7 separate regions of the Homo sapiens genome follow, and regions 1, 3, 4, 5, 6 and 7 are each linked to region 2. The links are contacts of gene promoters, found by promoter capture Hi-C in blood cells and fetal thymus (Javierre and others, 2016). All regions are on one chromosome and are shown on one strand. Each heading gives the region's core, a stretch centred on a gene start or on the middle of the fragment in contact. The rest is flanking DNA. Distances are from core to core; before and after follow the strand shown. Region 1 overlaps CEP57 (centrosomal protein 57). Region 2 holds the start of LNCRNA-IUR (lncRNA imatinib upregulated). Region 3 has its middle 92 kb from the start of FAM76B. Region 4 overlaps CEP57 (centrosomal protein 57). Region 5 overlaps MTMR2 (myotubularin related protein 2). Region 6 overlaps MTMR2 (myotubularin related protein 2). Region 7 has its middle 42 kb from the start of FAM76B.

The links. Contacts are between HindIII fragments. The CHiCAGO score rates a contact against its expected background, and 5 or more counts as called.
Region 1: a fragment that was not itself captured here is called in contact with the fragment with the promoter of LNCRNA-IUR in region 2 in 1 of 17 cell types (naive CD4 T cells); the score reaches 5.5 in naive CD4 T cells.
Region 3: a contact is called between a fragment that was not itself captured here and the fragment with the promoter of LNCRNA-IUR in region 2, in 17 of 17 cell types (total CD8 T cells, megakaryocytes, M0 macrophages and 14 more). The highest score is 30.4, in total CD8 T cells.
Region 4: a fragment that was not itself captured here is called in contact with the fragment with the promoter of LNCRNA-IUR in region 2 in 3 of 17 cell types (erythroblasts, naive B cells and total B cells); the score reaches 7.1 in erythroblasts.
Region 5: a contact is called between a fragment that was not itself captured here and the fragment with the promoter of LNCRNA-IUR in region 2, in 1 of 17 cell types (erythroblasts). The highest score is 6.5, in erythroblasts.
Region 6: a contact is called between a fragment that was not itself captured here and the fragment with the promoter of LNCRNA-IUR in region 2, in 1 of 17 cell types (erythroblasts). The highest score is 5.8, in erythroblasts.
Region 7: a fragment that was not itself captured here is called in contact with the fragment with the promoter of LNCRNA-IUR in region 2 in 17 of 17 cell types (M2 macrophages, megakaryocytes, non-activated CD4 T cells and 14 more); the score reaches 16.5 in M2 macrophages.

The regions. Positions count from the first base shown.
Region 1 is chr11:95,802,705-95,806,326 of GRCh38, forward strand. All of the region lies in intron 2 of CEP57 (centrosomal protein 57), which reads left to right. Among named protein-coding and RNA genes, the nearest start is that of CEP57, 14 kb to the left of the region's middle. The HindIII fragment of the contact is 4,822 bases long and covers 1-3,622 here.
Region 2 is chr11:95,148,908-95,152,274 of GRCh38, forward strand. LNCRNA-IUR (lncRNA imatinib upregulated) reads left to right here and starts at 1,632. Exons shown (of 3, transcript NR_110303.1): 1 at 1,632-2,841. RefSeq lists enhancers at 1,418-1,959, 1,960-2,501, 2,102-2,231 and a silencer at 2,752-2,861. The HindIII fragment of the contact is 7,632 bases long and covers 1-3,367 here.
Region 3 is chr11:95,695,752-95,699,044 of GRCh38, forward strand. No RefSeq gene overlaps it. Among named protein-coding and RNA genes, the nearest start is that of FAM76B, 92 kb to the right of the region's middle. The HindIII fragment of the contact is 4,092 bases long and covers 1-3,293 here.
Region 4 is chr11:95,826,234-95,829,981 of GRCh38, forward strand. It overlaps CEP57 (centrosomal protein 57), which reads left to right. Exons shown (of 11, transcript NM_014679.5): 9 at 1,553-1,794; 10 at 2,954-3,098. Among named protein-coding and RNA genes, the nearest start is that of CEP57, 38 kb to the left of the region's middle. The HindIII fragment of the contact is 517 bases long and covers 1,624-2,140 here.
Region 5 is chr11:95,843,535-95,847,016 of GRCh38, forward strand. It overlaps MTMR2 (myotubularin related protein 2), which reads right to left. Exons shown (of 15, transcript NM_016156.6): 11 at 1,419-1,625. Among named protein-coding and RNA genes, the nearest start is that of CEP57, 55 kb to the left of the region's middle. The HindIII fragment of the contact is 2,224 bases long and covers 251-2,474 here.
Region 6 is chr11:95,919,449-95,923,293 of GRCh38, forward strand. All of the region lies in intron 1 of MTMR2 (myotubularin related protein 2), which reads right to left. Among named protein-coding and RNA genes, the nearest start is that of MTMR2, 2.7 kb to the right of the region's middle. The HindIII fragment of the contact is 577 bases long and covers 2,120-2,696 here.
Region 7 is chr11:95,746,091-95,749,436 of GRCh38, forward strand. No RefSeq gene overlaps it. Among named protein-coding and RNA genes, the nearest start is that of FAM76B, 42 kb to the right of the region's middle. The HindIII fragment of the contact is 3,824 bases long and covers 1-3,224 here.

The DNA.
Region 1 (3,622 bases), core at 330-2,829, 650 kb after region 2:
CTTTTGCATGATCATTGGCAAACTTCAACACAGTGAAAAAAGTGAAGTCTTACTATTAATAGTATTATGAAAATAGTGTTGACCTCACAGGCCCTGGGAAAGGCCTCATGAGCTCTGCCCTCAATGTGCCTATGCCCCATATTTTGAGAACCACTGTAATCAAGGATATGAGTATGTCCAGAGTAGTATTTTGTTCATGTAAATACTTTTTTACCAGGTGTGAGAAGAATGTAGATAGTAGCATTTGTTCCAGAATCTAGATGATAGCTCCTTGAGGCCAAAGACAGTCTTCACGCCTTGCAGAGTGCTTCACACATTGTATGTGGTCTATATGTTTGAGGGACTGAGGTTTACATCAGAAGTAAGTCTAAACTGAAGCAACAAGACAGAACAGGAGACTGATTAAGGAAAGATTTATGCATATTTTGTTGTGGGGAATGAGGAAGATGGAGAAATCTTTGAGTCTAAGATTTCTAGTGAAGATGATTAGGGGTATGATTAGGACAGATGACACAAAAAAAGCATACTTAGAGGAATTGATATAATTTTGGCTGTATCAAATTTGAGATGCCTGTGAATTAGATGGAGATGAATACTAAGCAAATGAAAATTAAAAAGTCAAGTATAATAGAGAACACTACTAATGAACTCAGACATCATCAAGGATACAGTAGTGGATGAAGCCTATGAGTATAGAGGGGTTTCTCCAGAAAAAGAAAGTAGAGGGAGAAAAGGGCTTTGGAAAATACCACCATTAAAACAGTAAACTAAAAAGTAGGAAAAGTCAGAAAGGTGGAGAACTACCAAGACAGCAATATTAGAGAAATCAAAGATGCATATTACAGGTTTGGCCCCTGCCCCCCCGCCCCTTAATCTACAACAACATAAACCTGTGTTTATGTTAATGACAGAAATGTCCCAAGCAATAAATAGACCCAGGTGGACTTGAAGAACATTAGGGACTCAAACATGGCTAGCACTTTCCATCTTTTTTTTTTTTCGGCTTGTAACTAGCTTCATTTTTTCTAGCTACAAAAGAGCTTTTTTTTTGCCTAGCAGGAAACATTACTAAAAATTACTGAGTTTTAAGTTGAACCAGTTCTGGCTTTGATGTTTCGGACAAAAGTCCCAAGAAGACAAGCAAGCATTATCTGGGTTTCAGCGTGTGTCCCTTGTGGATCAGTTAGCCAGATTTGTCAAAGGATAGTAAAGTTGTAGGTATAGCCATGTTGAGGTAAGGGGAAACTCCCAGAAAAAGAGGTATATAAGTCAGGGAAACAGTTCCAAAGATGTGTGCTATACTTCATATAGCAAAATAAAAGAAAAATTTCAGGAAACAAAATTAGGAAATACAAAATATAATGAAAAATATGAAATTTATCAGGTATGACAAATGTGATTACGTCAACTCAAAAGCCAATATATGCTTTTTAAGTAAAACCTGAAATAAAATGAAACAAAAAATAAATAGCTGACAAAGGTGTTTACTGCCATACAAATAAAAACGATGGATGGCAGTACTACTGTCAAACAGTTAGTATAGGCAAATAGCAGCTTCATGTAATACTAAATAAAAACAAATAATACCTAGTTTAAAAGTGAGAAGGAGAAATACCCAAGTACAGAAATAAAATGAGTTTCAAGCCAGGACAGTAAGGATGGAACTAAAGCCTAAAACCTTAGGGACAGTATTAGGAGTCTTGGCATTAGGTATAAGCCTTAAATGTTGGGGTACAGTAGCAGAGATGATGGAATTTTAAATGTGGGTAGCGACTGGAGAACAAAGCTCTAGGCGCCCCTGAGGCAACTTCTGGAATACTTTGAAAAGGTGGGCGTGATGAGAGTTGTCAAAGCAGAACTGGAACACTGCGGCCCGTGGTCTCAGGAAGAGACTGGATAAAAAAAGTCACCTCTGATAAGTCAACTCAAGCCAATTTTATGTGCTTACTGAGGTGCATACGTGAAGACTTGAATACATAATGAGAGCTATACATTGTTAATGAAAATGCTTAATATTATAAATTGCATTTAAAGTGTGCTCATATATAAATAAATATGACATAGTAAAGGTCAATCTCACATATAAAAGCATTTTTAAAATCTATAGAATTTCAATAAAATGTTTATAATTACTACATCTAGATGGTAAGATTATGGGTGTGATTTTTTTCCTTTTCAATCATGTGTTTTCTAAATTATCCTCTGCATTTATTCAGTAATTTTTTGAAAAAGAAAACAATAAAACGTTACGCATTTAAACAGGGATATGTAAGCCATTCAAGAATACATAAAACAAAAGTGCACACCCCAGCATATCCTTGTGATACTACAGTTGCTGACATAAAGAACAAAAATGAAATGTTCAGCCAGTTTCAATAATAAATATAAGTGCAGAAATAAAGTATCAGCAACATTGTGTACTGTTGGGTATAATTTAATGAAGGAGTGCAAAAAATGTTTGATATTACAAAGTCTTTAGTGAATTTGCCTCTGATTCAGAAGAGGTTAAGAAAACTCAATGGATATTAAAGGACGTTTAAAATTTTATTTTTCTATTGTACTTATCTGATTATTGCAGGTATATAAAAGAATTGTTCCCTTTATTATTAATCTTATATTTAGGCTTCTGTTTAGTTCTGAGTGTCTTTTCAGTTGATTTTTCAGGTTTCTTCCTGTGTGTGTGTCTGTTTCATGTCTGCATTTTTTCTAGTTATATTGTAGTCTCATTGCATACCAGCAAGAATAAGCTGACTTCGATAAAATGTATTAGTCTCCTATTTGAGACCTGTAATATCCTAGGCACTGAAAAATTTGGTGAAGGAATAAATTATGTTAATAAATGGACAAGAATACTTTGGGTTGAGTAAGAGGACTCAATTCGTAAAAGACGGCAGCTCTCCCTACCTAGTGTATAGTTTAAATTAGTGTTTAGACAAAATGATTCTAAATAATTACTTGGAAATGTTTTAAGATTTATATAATATAGGTGACTGTTAGAATCAATGTTTATGAAATTTTAGTAATTGAAATACTGGCACTAATTCCCTAACATTAAGGAATCCAGAATAGAAGAAAGATCTGAAACTGTCTTAGGGTGTGTATGTAACAAAGAGTTACAGTATCTAATATATATATATATGTGTGTGTGAATTTAGTGTATGATCAATTTGACATTTAAAGTTTTTCTTTCAATACAAAAACACTTTTTCTATGACTTAACAAATGTAAACATATGAAACTGTAAATATAATTTTAAAAATACAAAGTTTATCTGATCTCGAGGTTGGGAAGAACTGTCCAAGTATATAAAGAAAGAAAACATGATGGGAGGAAACACCACACCCAAGACTGTGTTGTTAAAGCACTGATGACTTCTGACCCAATTATAAAAGTGACCACAAAGCCAGCTTGCTTTTCAGAGTTCAAAAGAACCATCCTGTAATCTGTAAGATATTTGAGAAAAAATCCTAGTCTTAATGTTCATTTTCTTTAAGTGCTTTTTGGAAGTAAGCTGGGTATAATTAATAAGGAAATAAAGAACAACTTGGTCCGGTTCCAAGATGGCCAAATAGGAACAGCTCCAGTCTACAGCTCCCAGTGTGAGTGACACAGAAGACGGGTG
Region 2 (3,367 bases), core at 382-2,881:
AATTTATAAAGTAGAAATATAAATTCTAGTAACACTTGGGATGCCATGTTCAATAAATATTACTGAAGGAGGAGCTAACATCTGCTGCACTGCTTCAGTGGTCCAGGCACTCATACACTATATATAAACTCACTTAATCCTCACAGTTATCTTTTCCCCCCAGATGAAAGTGAACTTTAGAGGGATTAAATGCCTTGCCCCAAACCAAGTAACCACTTAGCGACAGAGCCAGGGTTTGAACACAGTCATGTCTCAGTCCACATTCCATGTGCTTTCCACTGAGCTCCATGTTACAGGTTGGGCTCCCCAGGAATCAGTCTCTGAGATGACAGTAGCATGCAGGAAGTTAGCAAAAAAGTGCTCAAGGGGAACACACGTGGGGAAGGGGAAAACTCAGGATTAGGCAAAGGAGAAGGTGGGCAGGTAGAACTAGAGCCAAGCAAATGCCAGCCAGCCTTTTTGGAGGGTTTGGGTGGATAACGGACAATGTCAAAAACAGCATTAATTTTCAATCCTGGGTGGTGGAAAGACTATATATATGTATGTATATATGTATGTATGTATGTATGTGTATGTGTGTATGTATGTGTGTATGTATGTGTGTGTATGTATGTATGTATGTATGTATATGTATGTGTGTATGTGTGTGTGTGTATGTATGTATGTATGTGTGTATGTATGTATGTGTAATTTCTCTATGTCAGACACTGCTGGGTTTGTGCTCCCCTCTATAATCTACTGATTGTGGGACTTCACACGAGGTACAAAACATAAGTGACCTAATAAGCCCTCTAGACAGGGCTTCAGGGAGGAGCCAAGGCTGGCACATAGTCAGAGGGCAGGAAAAGTTCCACTCCCTCCGTGTGATTAGGAGGGCTGCTTTGTTTTCTTCCCAGGCAGAGACCTCAAAGAAAAGTGTGACTTGTGGCAATCATTGGAATGCTCTAACGGGAGGGAGCCCTAAGCTAAGGGGAGGGGCTGTATCAGCCCCGGGAGGGCGAGGGACAAAGGGGCATTGTTTCCCTGGAGGGCAGGCTGGGGCAAGGCTGACTCCACTGCCGGCCTGGGCGTGGGCAGGTTTGCTCCCGGGAGGAGAAGGCCTCCATCCTGGCCCACAATAGCCAACCCAAAACAGTTCTGGCAAAATTAAAAGACGCAGGAAAATGCCAGCGACCGTTTATTTTCTCCTAGGGTAGATGGGGGAGAAAGCAGCTCCTTTTTCTGGGCTGAATGGAGTCTCAGGGAGGGGGCTAGGTGACAGCATCGCCCTTTCCTCTCCGGCTATTGCGCACCTTCTGGAGCCTCGCTCAGCCTGCTCCCTCCGGCGTAATACGCCAATGCTGCTACCCACAACGCACAGACCAGAAACCAGGATAGACAGAAGCCTAGAATGGCCTGGCATCGAGCAGGCCCAGCGCAAACGCAAGGTCTCTTCCTCTCCTTTCGGTGAACCCCACGCCCAGTCCCGAGAGAGAGAGCGGATGCTCATTTCCGAAAGCTGGCAATCCTGCAGTGGCCACTGGAAAAATACATATACGTGTGTGTGTGTGTGTGTGTGTGTGTGTGTGTGTGTGTGCGCGCGCGCGCACACAGTGCATATCGTGCCCATCTACAAGGAAACCTGGAGGCTCCACAAACAACTTTGAGTCCCGGGAGGGCGGAGGTGGAGAGAGATTCTCCGCTTGGATAAGGGCGGCTGGATAGCCGAGTACTCTCTTTTGGGGCTGTTGGCCGTCTCCGGAGTCTCGGGAGCGCCTTGATGTCCCTTCCCAGGGCTCGGGTTCCTTTGAGAGAATCAAGAGGAAGGTGTTTTTCACTAGGACTCGCGGTGGGCCCCACCTGCCTACCGTGGCCGGCCGGGAGCTATTACAGCAGGGTCTGCCCGTCCGACGACGGCGGCTCCAATCTGGGGTCCCGCCGGCGCCGACCCCTCAGCTCTCTCCCGATACCTGCTGGCCTCTCTCATCTTTGGTGGCACTCGCCGCCACGGGGACGGTGAGATCAAAGAGGTAGACCTAGGCCAGGAGGGACTGCCAGGGCTCCTTCCCGCGGGCCAGCCTCTCGTCCTTCCTCCCGGGACGGGGCTCTTTCCCTTTCTCCGGATGCGGGCCTTTGAGAGTCAGCGACGCCTTAGACTCCTCCCAGAAAAATGCACCCTCATCTACCCAATTCTGCCCTACCCTTTGGAGCTCCTGGACCCTCTAACCGCTCGGTGGGGTCAGAGCCCACCCCCGGAAGGGCCGCTGGTCGGGGACTGGTTCGCCCTCTCCTGGCCTCCTCGGACCAGTGCGCGGGGAGGATCCCGCTAACGCCGGGCGCCTGCAGACCTTGAGCGGCCTCGCCCTGGTGACCTCCCCGGGAAAGGCTGGGCGGTGCTTCCACAATGAGGGCCACCTGTTAATTTGCACGAGAAAGTGCTGCCGAGGGCCCACACGTGCGAATCCACCTGTGGAGTGCGTCCCCTCTCTGGGGCCAAGGCCTAGGGGAGGCCGAAGCGGAGAAGTTGCCTGAAGACTGGGAAGTAAGAGTAGGGGCGTCGGAGGAATCGAAGTTGCAGTGACATCAGGCTCGGACAGCCGGCGGACTCCTCGCAAGGTGATCGGATACTTCCGAGAGCCCCACAGTCCTCCTGGGCCTTTGCCCTCGCGTCTGGGATGCGCTCGGGCGCCCCCAGTCTGCGATGCGTTCGTACCTCCAGTAGGGTGACGTTTTCGCCGGGCCCCTCTGCGAACAGTCTCCGCCCTCCTCCACTGTGAGATATTTCACAGTTTCACCCGCAGAGGGCAACCTTATTCCAAGTTCCCGAGCGCCCTAGGCCTCTTTCTCCTCCCTGCCTAACTGGTGAGGTGGGACTTCAATGCCTTTTAGGTTTACAGTCTTTTCCTCCCCACGGCTTCTCTTTCCTCCCCGTCTCAGGCACTGGGCATTTCCAGTCGATCCAGCAGGTCTGGCTTCTCTCACATATGCAGTAAGGGTTAGGGGAGAAGGTCCCAGCTCCTCTTGTCTCTAGCAGAGTGTAAACTGGCTCTGCTGAGGAGGTGGCTGTGCTTTTATTCCTTCTCCTGAGAACTGTTTATATATTAAGGAGCTTCACAGCCTCCAACATAAGGAAAGCAGGTAGGAACTGATCATATAACGCTTTGTAAATGTTTTAGACTTTGGCTTTAATGGGAAAGAAATGGGGAGCCATTCGTGGGTTTTTGAGCAGCAGGTGGACATTGCTTTTCATAATGACCACGCCAGCTGCTGTTTGGAGAATAGACTGTAGGGGTCACTGCGCAAATTGGAGGCCGCGATCCAGGTGAGAACCAGGTGAAACAGAGCTCGGGCCATGGAGTGGCGCTGGAGGTAAGGAGAAACACTCAGA
Region 3 (3,293 bases), core at 677-3,176, 550 kb after region 2:
AGAAATCAGACAGGGAGAGCTACAGAAGACTAGACAAGGGAGAAGATGATCATGAGTCCCTGAGTTTATCCCCAGCACAGGGGCCAGGTATATAGAGACTGGAGGGTTTTGCAGCAGCAGAAATTGCCACAAAACTCCAGGCACATTGAGACAGAACCCACAAGCATTTTTTCCATGCTAGTGCCCTGCTTTCCTAGGCTATCCAAGCTGGCCTTGGAGTGGTAGAACAACAAAGGGAAGTGTCCACAGAGACAGGCCTGCTATGGGACAACTGACTCCCATGGTGCTCATATGATGTGGAAGGAGTCCAGAAGCTCCTGAATGCCTCCGGGAATGTGGACCATGAGTGCTGGCTGGTGAACTTACTCAAGGCAACGATGGGCCAAGCTGGGGATGGAATGGAGTCACTGGGAATCTGAAGCACCGCGAGAGCCAGCGTGGGGCCTGATCAACAAGAGGTGATGGCCAAACACTTTGGATACTGTTTCAGAGCAACACGCAAACCATGTTTTCCTCTGCCCTCATACCACAACAACAATCATCAACACAGAAGAAGACTTCTGTGACCAAAGTGTGGGGGTTTTTCCCCGGGTATCCTCCAATCAGTTCTAACATTATGTACCCAGAAACAGCAACAGATATCACATATGGAGGGCTCAGTCCTACAAGTCTGCCCCCTTCTCCCACCAGCCTCAAGTCCAGGCCTCCAGAACTCCTGACCGATCAGCTTCAAGTTGGGGTTCCCATGACCCTATCTTTGGGTTTGATTTATTTATTAGAGCAGCTCATAGAACTTACAGAAACATATTTACTGGTATGTTATGAAGGATATTTTAAAGAATACAAATAAACAGCCAAATGAAGAGATACATAGGGAAGGTCTGGAAGCATGGACAACTGTGTCACAATGTGACTGTACAGAAAGGATATGACCTGAATAAACCCAGCAAGGCCTGCCTGCTCAGGGTTTTCTGGATCTCTCTGTGCAGCATTCCTTCCTGCGGAGTATGGGGTAGAACCCACTCTGGAATGAGGTTCTCATGACCCACAATCAGATGAGAGTCCTGCCTTGGGCAGGTGAAAAGAAGGCAGGAGAAGGTCAGAGAGAGAGATTCCATTTTCTGAGGCCTGTTCCTAAGGCCTAAAGTACCCCAACATTGTGACAAAAGAATATAACAAAGATTATGAGGTTTCTGAGCTAGGAACTGTATATGAAAACCTGTGTGTGTGTGTGTGTGTGTGTGTGTGTGTGTGTGTGTGTGTGTGTGTGTGTGTGTAATCATATCACAAGAGCCATCATCATGCCTCACCCATCCTGGAAGAATACAACCTGAGTGGAGTTACAACAGCCATACGCTGCTCAGTAGCAGCTTTAATGTAAATAGAGGCTGACTCCCAAAGACCAGGTGGGATGAGCTTAACTAGAGCCCCAGAAGCAAGCAAAGAAGGACAGCACATAAATTGCCCACCTCTCCCCTGCTTCCTGGATACCATTAATTCACGCAAACCTTCCCTTGCTTCCAGACTCTATCTACTCCCTAGAGAGGGCAGTTAGAACATTTGAAGTGTCAGATTATTTATCCAAAACACACAGAGTTACCTTAAAATCCAGAGCCACATAAAATCAGCCACCCAAAATTTGAAAAGTACATACTCTGGCCCATCTGCATCGTAGGTTATCAAATTTGACTCCTCTGTACTACAACTGAGTATGCACACTGCTATAGGAACTAAGAAGGTCATTTTTTTTCAGACGATGGAGTTAGAAAAGGCTTCCCACAGGAGTAACATTGGAGGTGAACTTTGAAGGGCAAGCAAGAATTATCCAGCTATGAAGAAACAGAAGTGTATTTCAAGAAATGCAAAAAACATGAGTCAAGGGACTCTGGTAAACTTAAGTACAGCTTGTTCAGGGAAAGCAAAGTTGTCCGAGAGAAGGATTGAGCTTCCATGCAAAAAGAAATCAGGTTGAACAGGAAGGCTGCAGGGCCTGCCTATGGCCGTGAGGGTTACTCCTAGGACCTCTGAGTGGTTGGAGGCTGAAAAACAGCCTTTGCCCTGCTCTCTAAGGGCCCTGTGTACTCTACAGCAGGACAGGGTACACCCTAAGGATGAGACCACCTTTTAGAATGCAAAAAGGCTTGATTCTTTAGCTGAGCCTTAAATCGCAAGGCTTCCTATGCCCAGAGGGGGTGACTTCTCAATTTTGCACAAAGTCATCGTGTAAATTAGCAGGGATTCTTTAAATATGGTCAGATTATAGAAGGCCATGCAAATTTCTTTAAAGGATTTGGGTTTTAAGTAAGAACAGTGAGGAGCCACTGCAGGGTTCTGGGCAGGGGTATGACATGGCAAAAGAAATTATTCCAGCAGCAGCTGTCTGCAAGGCAGATTGGAGCCGAGAGACTCGGGAAGTTACCACAGTTGTCCAGGCATGAAGCAAAAAGGGAAATTTTACGGTATCCATGGCAACTGAAGGGGAAAAATATGAAAATTATTTTGAAGGCAGAAACAACGAACTTGATTACTGATTGGGTATGAGTGCGTGGAAGAGGCAGCAGTAATAAATGACTCAGGGGTTTTGAGCTTAGGAAGCTATGAGAATAAACCTGAAATGGGGACGCTAATCAGGAGAGCTGCTTTGAGGGAGAAAAGAGAGTTTGGTTTAAGACATGTTGAATTTCACATAATGATGAAATGTAGAAGTGGAAATGCTCTCTATACATGTAAAAGGACAAGACTAGGTCATTCTTCCTTTTCTTCATTATTTTTTTCTCTCTCCATGATTTTTGCATACATCTTAGGATCTTTCTCTGAGGGATGTTTGGGAATAAATTTACCACTTCCCTTACTTTTAGTAAACTGTGAAAAAGATCATCATTATCATCATCAACCTTGTCTTCAAGTTAACACAAAGTATTAGTCAACACCTAGTTGTGTTTCACTTTTATGATTCCATGCCCTTGAGAGATTTCCACTCTCTGAAACAGCCAATATTTGCAGGATCAATATGTAGAGAACAGAAAGAGTAGAATAATAATCATCGAATAATACCTACATAAGATTAAAAGTAGTATTCACACTCTACAGGAAGAAACAAAGAAAGAGGAAGGATACTATGCTAGGTTAAGACCTGTGGTCGGGATGCTGGTGATTGGAGATAAAAAGAAAATTAGCAAGAATTTCTTTTTTGGACAGGGCTAATTTAAGTCTTCTCCTTAGGAAGGAAAATGGATTTGGGATACTCCTTACATAATAATTATTATTTTCATTCATCTAGGACTTAACATTTT
Region 4 (3,748 bases), core at 632-3,131, 680 kb after region 2:
CCTTAGGATTTTCTTAATATTTTTTTCTAACTTTACTTTTAGAATATTGCTTACAATACATAAAACAAAAATGCTTCCAGTCAACAGCAGGCTATTACATTTTAGGGCAAAATTTATTATAGTTCTCAGTTACATAAGTGGGAGCTGAATGATCAGAACCCATGGACACATAGTGGGGAACAACATACACTGGAGCCTGTTTGGTGGGGGAGTTGGTCAACGGGGAGGGAGAGCATCAGGAAGAGTACCTAATGGATGCTGGGGTTAATACCTAGGTGATGGGTTGATCTGTGCAGCAAACCACCATGACACACATTTACCTATATAACAAACCTGCGCATGTACGCCAGAACTTAAAAGTTGAAGGAAAAAAAAATTTCATTATGGCAGAGTTTTGACTACATGGGTGGTCGGTGCCCCTAACCCCTCCATTGTTCAAGGGTCAAGTGCATATTAATATAATCAGAAAAATAACAGAACGAGAATTTTTTAAATTATTGCATATTGAAAGTGTACTCATAGGCAATTAGTATGCTAAATATATATTACAAGTTACGAGCAAAATAGTGGTTACATCGATTGATTTTTGAATAGTGGACCAGCCTTGCATTGATGTAATAAACTCCCACTTGGATGTGATATATAATACTGCTGCATTCACTTTGCTAGCTAACAATAGAAACTAAGATTAGAAGGAAAGCATATGTTTAGCTTAGCATGGTGGTTCCAAATCTGGCTAATCAAAATCAACTGGAGGACTTGAAAACACAAATTTCCAAACCCTAACTCTGCAGTGAGTTTGGTGTGCTGCCTAGGAACCTGCATTTTAAATATGCTTTCTAATAATATTTATGGAGCCAAGTAAGCCCAGCCATCTATTTATAAAGTGGAATAGTACATTGAGATTGTTGGTTTAGTGTTTAAAACAAAAGCAAAATATCTTTGAGAAGTCTATCAGGTTTTTCTTACACACGTGATAGACATGTAATTTAGTGCTTCCTATTATTCCAGGATACAGAAATGAACAATAGTGTCTACCACCTGGATGTACACTGTTTAATAGGTGAAATAGATATGTAAAAGCAATTAAAATATGATAAATGCTATGAGAGAGATGTAAAAAGTGTTATAGGTGATCTGATAATGGACTGATTGATTACCTGGCAGTTTTAAGGAAGCCTTTAAAAATAATATATTTGAACTGGGTTTTAAAGAATGATATAAATGTTGCTAATACACCAAAAAAATGTCATCTGCAAATATGGTTTGTTCACAAAATGGAGAGAAGGGGAGGATGATAGGACATGAGGCTAGGAAATGTAGGTTGCAGCTCAATGATGTGTATGTAGGGCCTTATTTTCCATTCTGAAACATAGTTAGTGGATTTATATCAAAGGATTTCAAATAGAAGAACATCATGATGAGAATAATTTTAGGATTTATATACTCTACTTTAGGGGGTGGAGAGTTCTTTTTACCTAGGCTTAGGGAATAGAAAGTGGTGTAGAGAATATAACTTCAATTACTTCTTTCATCATTTTTCTTCCTTTAGTCCACAAGCCCTAGCCATGCCGTGGTAGCCAATGTTCAGCTTGTCTTGCATCTAATGAAGCAACACAGTAAAGCTTTGTGCAATGATCGAGTCATCAACAGTATTCCTTTGGCAAAGCAAGTATCTTCACGAGGTGGTAAAAGTAAGAAGTTGTCAGTAACACCTCCCTCCTCCAACGGTATTAATGAGGAGTTGTCAGAAGTCTTACAGACTTTACAGGATGAATTTGGGCAAATGAGCTTGTGAGTTTTTGTTTTTTTTTTTAAATTCAGTTTAGCTCTAAAACCTCATTTTTTAAAAACTTGTTGACTTTATTAAATCTTACTTTCCTTTGTTGAGCAAGTATGGTTGAGCACAATCCTTATACCAACCAAGTTACTGGGACTTTAACAAATACAACTAATAAGGGTAAAATCTCTCTCTTTTTAAATACTGTTAAATGTTTTGAAGACCAAGGTTTATATTTAAGTTTTATTTCTTTGAGAACTTATGATATACAGTCATGCATCACTGAATGACAAAGATGTGCTCTGAGAAATACATCATTAGGCGATTTTCTTTTCCTTGTGCTAACATAAGAGTGTGCTAAGCTTATAGCTTATTGCTCCTAGGCTACAAACCTATACAGCATGTTACTCTACTACTAAATACTATATGCAGTTGTAACACAATGGTAAGTATTTGTGTATATAAACATCTAGGTAGAGTAAAAATATGATACTAAAGTCTTACGGGACCACTGTTGTATATGTGGTCTGTTGTTTACTACATCATCATCTGGCACCTGACATCACATTCATTTTAGCTAAACTTAACTGATAAGACATGAGTGTTTGAAGAGCAAGATTCATCTGTAGACTTTACATATACAATACTCTTTTGGGGAAAATAAGAATATAAAGAATTAACCTTGAAATTAAGAACTCTTGCATTTCCCTCTAGTGCCTTTCTTGAACTTTTAAATTCATATTTTTAATTAAAAATTTCTTGATCTAGGCTAGGCATGGTGGCTCACACCTGTAATCCCAGCACTTTGGGAGGCTGAAGTGGGCATATCACATCCTGGCTAACAGGGTGAAAACCTGTCTGTACTAAAAATACAAAAAATTGGCCAGGCATGGTGGCAGGCGCCTGTAGTCCCAGCTACTCGGGAGGCTGAGGCAGGAGAATGGCGTGAACCCGGGAGGCAGAGCTTGCTGTGAGCCGAGATCATGTCACTGCACTCCAGCCTGGGCGACAGAGCAAGACTCCGTCTCAAAAAAAAAAAAAAAATTTATTGCTCTGTTCAAAAAATGGAGTCATTTTTTAAACACATGGAGCAGTAACCCATAATGAGGTATAATAGACCTAACCATGAAACACAGAAAACTTAACCATGTTCTACTTCTGCTTTGTATATAGTGATCACCAGCAGCTTGCAAAACTTATCCAGGAGTCGCCAACCGTTGAACTGAAAGACAAGTTGGAGTGTGAATTGGAGGCATTAGTGGGAAGGATGGAAGCAAAAGCCAACCAAATAACTAAAGTTCGAAAATACCAAGCCCAGGTAACTCAGTTTTCCTTCACTCAAGTTTCTAATGATTAAGAAAAAAAAAACACTTTAATTCAAATATTAAATGATGACACTAAGTGTATCATAGATAAATATCTACAGGAGATACTTCTTTACTGAAGACATTTGTTCATTGAGAATTGGTAAGTGGATTAAGAAAGAAGACACTTTTAGTCACTTAGCATATTCATCTAAGAAACATCTTTCAAATACTGAATATATTTAATATTCTTTATGAATAAGCTTTAACTTCTTTGATGAATTTAAATTGGAGTTTATCCAAGTAAGTTTTTTTAAAAGCACCTGCGAAATTCTGTTTCCAAAGGAATAAGTCATACATTAAATATGTGAAATATATTTATGTTGCTAATCATTTTATATCAGCCAACAATGTAGTACTACCAGATGCAGTGGTGACATCACACTCAAGGGTTTTCAACCAGAGAGAAACATGATTCATATATTTAAGAGATTACTGTAGTGACTAGGGGTAGGGTAATGGGATCAAGGCAGAGAGGCTGAGAGATCAGCTATAGATGTATCAGAGGTGGTCAGCAAGACAGTAGTTGGGTTTGGGCAGAGGTAAACAGATTTGAGGTATGTTTTGGAAGTAAAAAAAATATTGGGGTTACTTGCTGCTGGGT
Region 5 (3,482 bases), core at 113-2,612, 690 kb after region 2:
TCCCTGAAAAAGCTATTAAAATACTTTCTGCTTTTCCACTTACATATCTGTATATGGTTAGATATTCTTCATATACTAAAACCAACAAAACATAACAGATTGAAGGTAAAAATAGATATAAAATTCAGCTATCTTCTATTAAGCCAAACTCATTAAATTTGCAAAAGTAAAACAATGCCAGTCTTTTCATTAAACTTTTTGTTTTGGAAAATATTTTTTTTAGTTTAAATATTTCTGTTAATATATAATAAGCTTATTTCCTAAATTAAGAAATATTTTTAAATTTTTTCAAATTTAATTTTCAATATGGCAAATATTGATATAACTCACATAAAGTTCTCTGGGTAACAAGTTTGGGGAGTTAGGAAAAAAAAGTTCTATCCATAATTGTTAACAATGTAAAGGGGGTCCTGAAACCAAAAAGTTTGAGAATCATTACTCTACATTAACCTTGTGAGCAAATCCTCTTGACTGGGTGCCCTTTAATTGTCAAGATTCTATTTTCAGAATATAACTAGGTAAAAAGAACGGGGGGAGTAGGTAACCAGAGTTAGCAATTTAGGAATCCATAGCAACTTCGAACACCCCAAAATGTTTGATTTTGAACACATTTATATAAACATGTGCAGCTTTGGCTGACTAAAACTTGATTCTTTGAAGTACGAGTTTGTTTTAAATGGCCGTTTCATGATAAGTACATTGTGTAGAGAACGGCAAAATGTGAGCCATCTGAATAAACACTCCAGGTACCCAATTTTATTTAACAGTTCAAGTTCAAAAGAGCAGACTAACTTTAAATGTCTGTTCCTTTCATGTTACAGTTAACCCTTGAACAACACGGTTAGAACTGCACAGGTCCACTTATATGCAGATTTGTTTCAGCCAAATGCAGGATGCGGAACCCACATACACAGAGGGCCAACTTTACATGGTCCCAGCAGGGCCAGCTTCAGAACTTGAATATGTGTGGATTTTGGCCTGTTCATGGGATCTGGGAACCAAGCCCCCACATATACCAAGGGACAACTGTATAAACACTGCTAGTATACTCTGGTAACTACTGGATACTAAAGGTAAACATTACAGACAGCATCTGGGTAAAGACCCTTCTAAAAGTTTTTCAATTATTTAGGAAAACGCCTGCCCAGAAACACCCGTGGACATCACTGAATGATATCCGATGTTTCCCAGTGGAGATCACAGAAAAGACTGGGTCAGACACTTGACAAATAGCTAGCTCTGACTCCAGACTAGTCATGTTAGGGATATCTTAATGCTTTCCAAAACAAGCAAAAACGTTTACCCCACTAGATAAATGATCAATTTCAGATGAATATCTTATTTTAAAAAACACATTTTTTTCACATGCCTTGGCATGAATGCATGTGATATATCCAAAGTCAAGGTTCCTTACTTACTAGTTGAAATCGATGTCCAAAACTTAGCCATTCTTTCTCCACAAGGACTTCAAATCCTCGGATGGTTCGATAGTATCCATCCAACATGAGCATGGCAAGGGAAGTGAGCTGAGCTGTGCGATCCCAACCATCACTGCAATGCACTACCACAGACGTCTTCCCTGACTCTACCTTGTCAGCAATCCTAAGAGCCCCTGCAAGAATAAGCTGGAAAACAGATTTTTTAATACATTGTTTTTAAACAAGGTAAATACTTCCTTCTTCAAAATTTACTAATACAGCTTATCAGGGATCATTATTTCAATAACATGAGGAAAAACATTTGTCCCTTCCTAAGAAGAATTTTTTTAAATGGTAGAAGATATATAAATTTTGCTTTTAAAACTAGAAAAACCTCATAATTGCTGACTCCTATTAATTTGCCCAACGAAATAGCCAAATCAAAAGTACCTTTGGGTGCTACATAAATCATGGTGTAAGATTCTTCTTAGAAAAGTTCTAAAGAGATCTGTTTCTAAGAATCAAATATTCCATCATCTATTTAAATAAAAATAATTGATATAGCAATTGAAGCCTTGTTATGATTTAAAACAATGCTTAAACCAAATTGGGATAAGCACCTGAAAGCAATAATACTGGATCTCTTTAAAATACTCTATAGCAGTTATTGTATTGTTTTGACTAAAGATTTTTATGTCACAGAGCATACAGCAAGCACAGTATAAACTTTAGAGTGAGCTACTTTTCTGTAACACTGCATGAAAATTCACAGAATATGTCAATCTGTTACTTAAAATAACTTCAGCTCTTATTTTTTTAAATATGCAGAAATCCTTTGCAAAATAACTTACCTTTTCTGAAGTCAATCTTGAGTTAAAACTAAACATAATTAGATATAACCAAAAAAGAAACACAAAAGTATGGTATCTTAAAAAAAAAAAAAAAAAAAAAGGACAATACAGCCCTATTCTTCTCTGCAATGGCCATATTGTATTATACTTGAAAAACAGTATAGTTCTACATACGCAGATGAGAATGAAAGAAAACAGATTATTAAGCTTGGAAGTATGATAACCTCCCCTTGATCACAGCTATAAGCATATTCTGGAAATGGGGTACTATGACGATCTTGACTATATATCAAGAGTCATTTGTAAGCCTGAAGTGCCTAGACCTCATTGTCCAATGATCCTAATTCAGTATCTTAAATAAATTCCACCTATAATTCTAGTGCATATACGAAGTTAAGAATCACTAACCCAAAGGCTTAGTTAAGATTGATCAGGAAGAGTTATCCAAAGTAGTAATTGTTCATTCATTCATTAAATAAACATTTATGGAGTCCCTTACTAGAAGGTAGATACTGCTCTAGGCACGGGCCATACAGCAGGGAACAAAGTTCCTGCTTACTGAAGTTTACATTCTATTTGGGTGAGGCCCACCAGTCACAAATAAACAAGGAAATATACAGTATACCAGATGGCAATAAGTGAAAACGCTCCATAGAAGTTATAGGGAATGCTGGTAGAACTCTTATTTTGTAAAGAGGCTGGGAAAGGTCTCTCTCAGAAAGGTGATATTTGAGCAGAGACCAGAAGAGAGTGATTGAGTAAATAAACTTTCTTTGTGTGATAAGGATTGGGGGAGAATAAAGTAGTTTAGCCCAACTATATGTCTTATAACTCTAGGGAAATTTGATTCTGTTATAGCCAGCCTTTTAGAGACCATGTTGAAACTGCAAATTAAATATCTGGAGTTTTCAGAATCAAACACAGCGATTTATGTTAGTTCCAAATCAAGCCTAAGGCTGTATATTTACACATCACATAATTTAATGAATGGGCCACATGAACATGCTCTCTGAGTAGTGTTTATACTTTGTGATTTTCAAGCTTCTAAGCTTCTCAAAGGGAAACAATAGTAAAAATGGTCTATTTAAAATTCTTATTCAGTTTGGTTTTCTCTTCAATTCTGTCTGAACTTCAGAGATTTTAATGTGAGCAGAAGTATCCTCCTTCTTAACGTGAAAGACTGCATTTCCCATTACCTCTTAATATTTATATA
Region 6 (3,845 bases), core at 1,158-3,657, 770 kb after region 2:
ATAAAACCAAATAATCTGGGATAAACAAGTATGGTACCCAGAATAACTAAAGCCTGAGGTTATATGAAGGATGACAAGAACACACATTAATTAAAACGACTAACAACACAAGTTAGAGCAAAAGGGGCAAAAGTAATCAAGAGTAGCAGATGGATAAATAGGTAGTTGAAGAGGACATAATAACCTCATTGTGTGTAGGACTGGGCACAGAACAGTAAAATCAGCTCAAGATGTCCAGTCTCCCATAAAAATAACTTCAGCTTAGACCTGAAATTGCAAGTGTTCAGGCCAAATTCAACAGAAGGAATCCTTTTTAATCCTTTGAATGGGAACAACAAACAAGACCAGTGGTGAACATTCCGTCAACATTCTTTTATTTAGATGTTCACTCAGCACCTATTCGGCACTAGATATCTTACCATTTGATTATGCACAATACAAACTAATCAAAGAAACCCACTAAAGCAGTGCATTTTATAATAGTGTATAAACTGAAAAATGGAAAACCAGACTAAGATGGCAGATTATTACCAATATAATGTCAAATTCTGCTGTGTAACTCATTACAGTTCTGAGACTCAAGCCTACTCTTATTATCACATCTGACCTACAGTATTATTTTACCTATATCTTATAAAGTCATACTTATATCAAGAATCAGAGCACACCCAACAAAAGTAAAATTACAGAATATAACTAGATTATTAGGATGCTAAAGTGAAGTTTTCCACAACTCCCTCTCTCTTTCTGTGGGGATAGATATACATGAAGAATGGCCAACAGCAAGATATACAAGAGTTGCTGAACAGTTTACTGAAGTATGGCAATATTAAGCAGGACTCACCAAAGACAACTATTGTTTTTTTTGTTTTTGTTTGAGATGGAGTCTCACTCTATTGCCCACTCTGGAGTGCAGTGGTGCGTTCTTGGCTCACTGCAACCTTGGCCTCCCAGGTTCAAGTAATTCTGGTACCTCAGCCTCCCAAGTAGTTAGGGTTACAGGTGCGTGCCACCACGCCCAGCTGACGATTACTTTTTTTTTTTTTTTTTTAAAGATGCAGGATGACATAACTATAGCTGGTTAGGAAACTACTACCTGGATATCATATGAAGAATGAAATTGCCCTTTTGTGGGCAAAAGCATCAGATCTATGATGACCTAGAAGGCATAACTGGAGACAAGAGAACTCTGAAATGACTACAGATACTTAGTAAGACTCATCACATGTTTATTGTGAACTACAGATTGCACAACAGCCTGTAATCCAACTTCAATGGAGTATGTCATTTTCATTTTTTAAAATATTTTTACTTATTTTAAAAAGTCTTTCTTTTTTAGAGATGGGGCCTCACTATGTTGCCCAGGCTGGTCTCAAACCCCTAGGCTCAAGTGATCCTCCCACCTTGGCCTCCCAAGTGCTGAGATTACAGGCATGAGCCATGGCACTCGGCCAAGTATGTCATTTTCAAAAAACAATGGGCAACCACATGGATTAGTGTATCATCCTTCCTACTTCCCAAAAGGGCTTCAGACATCTAATCAATACATTTAAACATAACACATAATATTTAACTTGAGTTCATGTAATAATAAAAGTACTTAAAGAAATTAGAGATGAGTATATTACCACCTTCAGATATAAATTTGACTAAAGTTTTACTAAGCTAAAGAGAAAGACGCAGTTATATAGTTACCACTTACTAACAAACAAGGAGCATACATAATTTTTTCTATAAATAATTTTCTTTGTAGCTAAACTCAGCAGAAATTTATGTTAATGCATGTGTGAAAAACATTCTGTGACACATTTAACAATATTAACTATTATTCTGCCAGAGATATCAAAACAAATTCCAAAGGCAGTTTCCCAATTAGGCCTCTGTATAAAAACAGAAAGCATAAAAATAAACTACAATTTAAGGGAATCATTTCTGCAAAAACTGAGATAATATAGGCCAAACAGCAATAATTTTGCTTTGTCAAAGGCTAATGAAACAAAAGAAATAACTTAAACAATCTAGATAGACACTTAACATAGCTATGAGACCAAAGCAGGCCACACTGGCAATGTATTAGAGTCACCTGCGATGAAGTGTTAGCCTAGATTGTTTAAAATTAAGCTTTCTAACTAGTGTCTATAATGTATCTATTACATACTGTTGATTAAGGAGAGTGCCACAAACAGGTATGATGATTAATGAAATAAAAGATACATAGAATTTAGCAGGGAAACTTCCATACAGTAGACATTAAGTAAATGTTACTTTTCTACCTTCCAGAGGAGAGTAATGAAAGCTGGCATTCTCTTATGGAAAATAGGAATCATACTTATATTTTTGTCCAGAGAGGATTAGGCTAATCTACTATATCACAATTCTCTCGAGGAGTACTTAATTTTCTCAAATTTGTCAGTAACATAATTTTTTATAGAGAAGTTCATATACATATATAATCTTTATACTTGCTGGGCTTTCTGTTTTAGGAAATAAATATGTTCAAGTGGCACCGTTAGGTATATTAGTTTGTAATAATAAAGGACACTTATTTCGTGTAATTGCAAAAATCCAAAACAAAGGTTATTTGCAAAGGAATTATCTTTAAAATTAATATCAATGCATTCATCTTAGTATTGTCATTAAAATTTTAAAAATGACAATGTTAGAGTTCCAAGGGACCTTACAGATTTTCTAGATCAAGCTTCTTATTTTAAAAGATGAGAAAACTGTAGACTAGAAAGTCTAAATGAAAAGACCAAAGAGCTAGCTCAGCCAGAGACTTCAGCATGGGAGCTTCCTAACTTCCAGTACTTCCTTCTTTCTAACATACTGTGCTGCTTCATGTGGTTCTAACTTCTCTGCCTTGGATGAGAGTACTGGTTGCCTCTTATGCTATTCTGAGGCATAGTTGTCATTTGTAACTTTCCCATAAAATTCGAATTTTCCAACCTGTTTTCTGAATGAATTACACAACTGAACATGTTAATCCTCAGCTTTCCAAATTTCAAAGCAATAAATACAGAATTCAAAAAATACTTGATTCAAACGTGCAATATATATAATCAAACTGCAAAGAAAAATCCTCCTTTCCTGGATAATTCAGGCTACAAATTCGAAAAAAAAAAAACCATTTAGTGAGCACCTATCACATGCTGAGACTATGTTAAGTGCTGGAGATATGAAGATGATTAAGATTGCCCTCAAGTATAATAGCTTATAACCTGGTAGAAAAGGCACTTTAAGCCAACAATTATAGTGTGCTTATTAAAGACTCTGAAAAACGACTGTGCAGGGAGCTATGAGTGCATATGGCAATGTAGAATGACGGGATCAGACAGTGGTTCCCCAGTGAGGTGCTGAACATCAACAGGAAAAAAGGCAATAACTACCCATATTTAGCAGAATCCAAAATGAATTATAATAGAGCCACTTCAACTGATTGAAGGAGAAAATGAAAATTGTGTGTTTTCACACAGCAGTTATCGAATCACTCTCTAATAACAATTAGACTATTATTCAGTGGAAAAGAACCAGATTTCATCGTGGCTGCATAAAAAGCAAATACAGGTCTTATATTATTTTTTAAAAAATTTTTAAATCATTATTTTAAAATCAAAGAAAAAGACTGCATCCAAAACGCGTCTAGTTAATATTCATAAAAGCTCTCTGCAAAGCTGCATAAAGTCCTCCTCAAAATTCCAGGATAAAATTCCCATCTGTTACAAGAGAAATGACAACGTGGAGAACCAGTAGCCCAAGAAGGAAGAAAACTACCACTCATTTTGTTTTCTTAAACCTATCACTGGGGATAAAAACCACTCAGATTCCTTGATACTGACTTTCAGCTG
Region 7 (3,346 bases), core at 63-2,562, 600 kb after region 2:
CAGAAATTCTTTTTCTTTATATTGATTTTATGATTTTTATCCAATTCGGAAATTCTCTTTATTTAATCTAATACTTCTAAAATCCCCCTTTTTTCTTCATGGATTTTAATTACATAAATGTAGAGCACTTGAAATTATTCCAAAGACTTCTGAGGCTCTGTTTATTTATTTTGCTACTTTTTTTTCCTTTTTCTGCTTCCATGTGGATAGTTTCTATTGCTACATTTTCAATTTCACTGACCTTTTATTCTACAGTATTTAATCTATTATGTCCCTCCTGCAATATTTTCACTTTCTATATTGATTTTTCATCTCTGGGAGTTCCATGTGCTTCAATTTTTAAATATTTATTTCTTTCCTCACTAACTTCATTTTAAAAAAAATTCTTGAGCATATTTGTTGCAGCAATTTTAACAAATATTTAAATCCAGTGTATGTTAATTCCACTTCTGTCATTTCTAAATTTGATTCTACTGACTTGTCTTTTTCCTGGTTATGAGCCATACACTTCTTCATGTGTCCAGAAATTTTTACTGGATGCTGGGAATTGTGATTGTTACACTGCTGAGTGTCCAAATTTTGTTGTCTTCCATTAGAGTGTATTTAAGTTTCTTTTGGAAGGCAATTAAATTACTTGTGGATCAACCTAGTCTTTTTGAAGCCTGTTTTTAAACTGTTAAAAATGTCTAGAGTAGCTTTTCCCTTAGGGTTAGTCTAGCCTACTACTAAGGTATAAGTCTTCCAGGGTCTGTATTTAATGTTTAATGAGGCCTCATCACTTTGGCCGGTTGGAACTCAAGGAACTTTCAGTCAAGTATGTTCTCTGGAAATTGCTTATTTTGCAGCACCCTAGTGGTTCCTTGCTTGGCATAAAGTTTTCATCCTTAGCATGCATAGCTTAGTTTTCAGCAACAGACTCAAGTGGACCTATATGCAAATTTCTGGTGCCCTTTCTCTGCATGGCTCCCTACTCTCCAGTTTCCTACTCTACAAACTACAGCTACCTCAGCCTCTTCAACCTGTAGTTTCTATGTCTTCAACACAACAAGACCACTGAGTTCTGTTTGGGTTCTCCTGCTATGTGCTGTCCCTAAAGTACAGAAAGCTGAGATCATTTTAGGGCCCACATTACTGATTTACCTTCTCTCAAGGATCACAGCCCTGTACTACCTTTCATCCAAAGTCTGAAGACAGTTGTTTAATACATTTTTGTACAATTTTCTAGTGTTTCTGGTAGGAGGCCAAGTCCAATTTCAGTTACTTTATGGAAGTCAAACACTGGTTTGATTGCTATTATACTCTAGGCAAAATGGTTTCTGATTTAAGTAAAAGTCACATTAATCTACAAAAGACAACCTTCTCCTTCAAAGACCATAATAATCTCTTTTTATCATTAAACAGACTTTGAGGAAGAGCAAAGAACAAATGGTCAAAGACGGTTGTTTTGGCAAGGTTTTCATAATAAAGTTTCTCCACCCTTTTCATTTAGCAGCAATCTCCTGCCTAACCACTTTTCCTCACCTCCATCCTTGGTTCTGGACTCCCATGTAGCACACTTTGCTCCTACTTTTTTCAAAATATCTCTCTACAGAATTTCTTGCCTAATTATCCATCTGTTCAGCCTCCAACTCCCCATTCAGGGACTATGTAGATGGGCTCCAGCAGTGGTGGGGAGACTAGCTCAGGGTTTATTGCTTTTTATCAAGGTAACACCTGTTCTTTTCAGCAAATGCCTTCCGGAGACAATAGTTCTGCCTTTCATGTTTAACCCAAAAGAAAACAGCTAATCAATAATCACTCCTCTTGGCCAGTCATTGAGACTAAACATTTTAATCAGATGAGGCTTTAAAATAAGTCTCCAGGAAGACAGTTAATAGAACTGGAGAACCTTTAATATATATCTCTCTCCTTCTAGTATCTGGAAGAGCAACAGAAGGAAGCATTCAAAACAATTCCTACCTAATTGACCTCTGAGGTTGATGCAGTTGTACGTGGCAAGGATGTACAGGTTGTTTTGTTTTGTTTTGTTTTACGATTTTAAGTATTTCATTGAATGGAATGTTTGGATTCATTTATTTATTAATGCAAGAAATGTTTATTTCACTCTTACTTTGTTTCACCTGCCTTGTGCTAGCCATTCCCTAATGATGAATTGATATGGTTTCTGTCACCAAGGAGCTCACAACCTCTTGAAGGAGCAAAACATAACAGGATCATTATAACATAGTGTGAGCTCATTTGATAGAGACATGCTTAGAGAGCTATATGAGCACAGAAGAGAGATTAATTCTCCATGCTTCCCATGACCGGGCACCATTTCAGTAATAGCTTATGGACAATATACCTGAGTTTCTCAGTATTGAGATGATAGTTTTAAACTAGTAATGTTGTAAGAGATATGAGGAACAGTGAATGAAACTTTACAAAATGAAATGGGTGTCTGTAGGGCCTGTGAGGAACTGCTGATTTAAGGCTAAGGGAGGATGTCTTCATGCTCAATGCTCAGATCATTATCAGAGACAAAGAAATAAGGCAAGAGAGCAGATTTGATGTAGTTAATTGGATGAGGGAGCAAGCCAGAACTCTGTTGGAAGGCTGAGTTATGATAGCCAACAAAGGAGAAATAGAATTGACTAAGAAGCATGTTCTTTATACAGCAGTAATGCCTAACCTGAGATCCATGAGTAGGCTTCAGATGTATTGGAGGAAAGGAACCTCCCCATCCCTGAAATTGTCTTCACATTTTTGGATGTGCGCACATTTGCATTTTTCTGGGAAAATGTTCCATAGCTTTGATCAGGTCATCAAAGTGTCACACAGCCCCTAAATATTAAGAACTACTGCTGCATAGTAACTTATCGTGTAATGGCAATGAGTTATAAAACCAAAAGCCTCAAATTTGAGACCTGCATCCTCCATGTTCTAGTTGTGTGACCTTGAACATGTCCTTTTATTCCTCTATGCTTACACTTATCATCTGCCTACCTTGTGGAATTATTGTGAAGGTCAAAGGGTTTCATGAAATAAAAAGTGCTACACAGTTGTTATCTACCAAGACAACAATTGACTTAAATAAATGCAAATACAATTTATTGGAAGTTCCTTATTACTCTTTTAAATATGGTAAATCCATTCTAGAGGTTAATACCTATCCGTGTGTGTGTGTGTGTGTGTGTGTGTGTGTGTGTGTAAACTTCCAAAAAATTTCAGTGTGAAAGTTTTCAAGCTTACACAAAAGGAGATAAAATTGTATAAAGAACTCCCATGTACTTCTCATTGGTTTCATAATATCAACATATATCCAATCTGGTTCACCTATAATCCGATCTCCTCCTCTTTCCCTCAC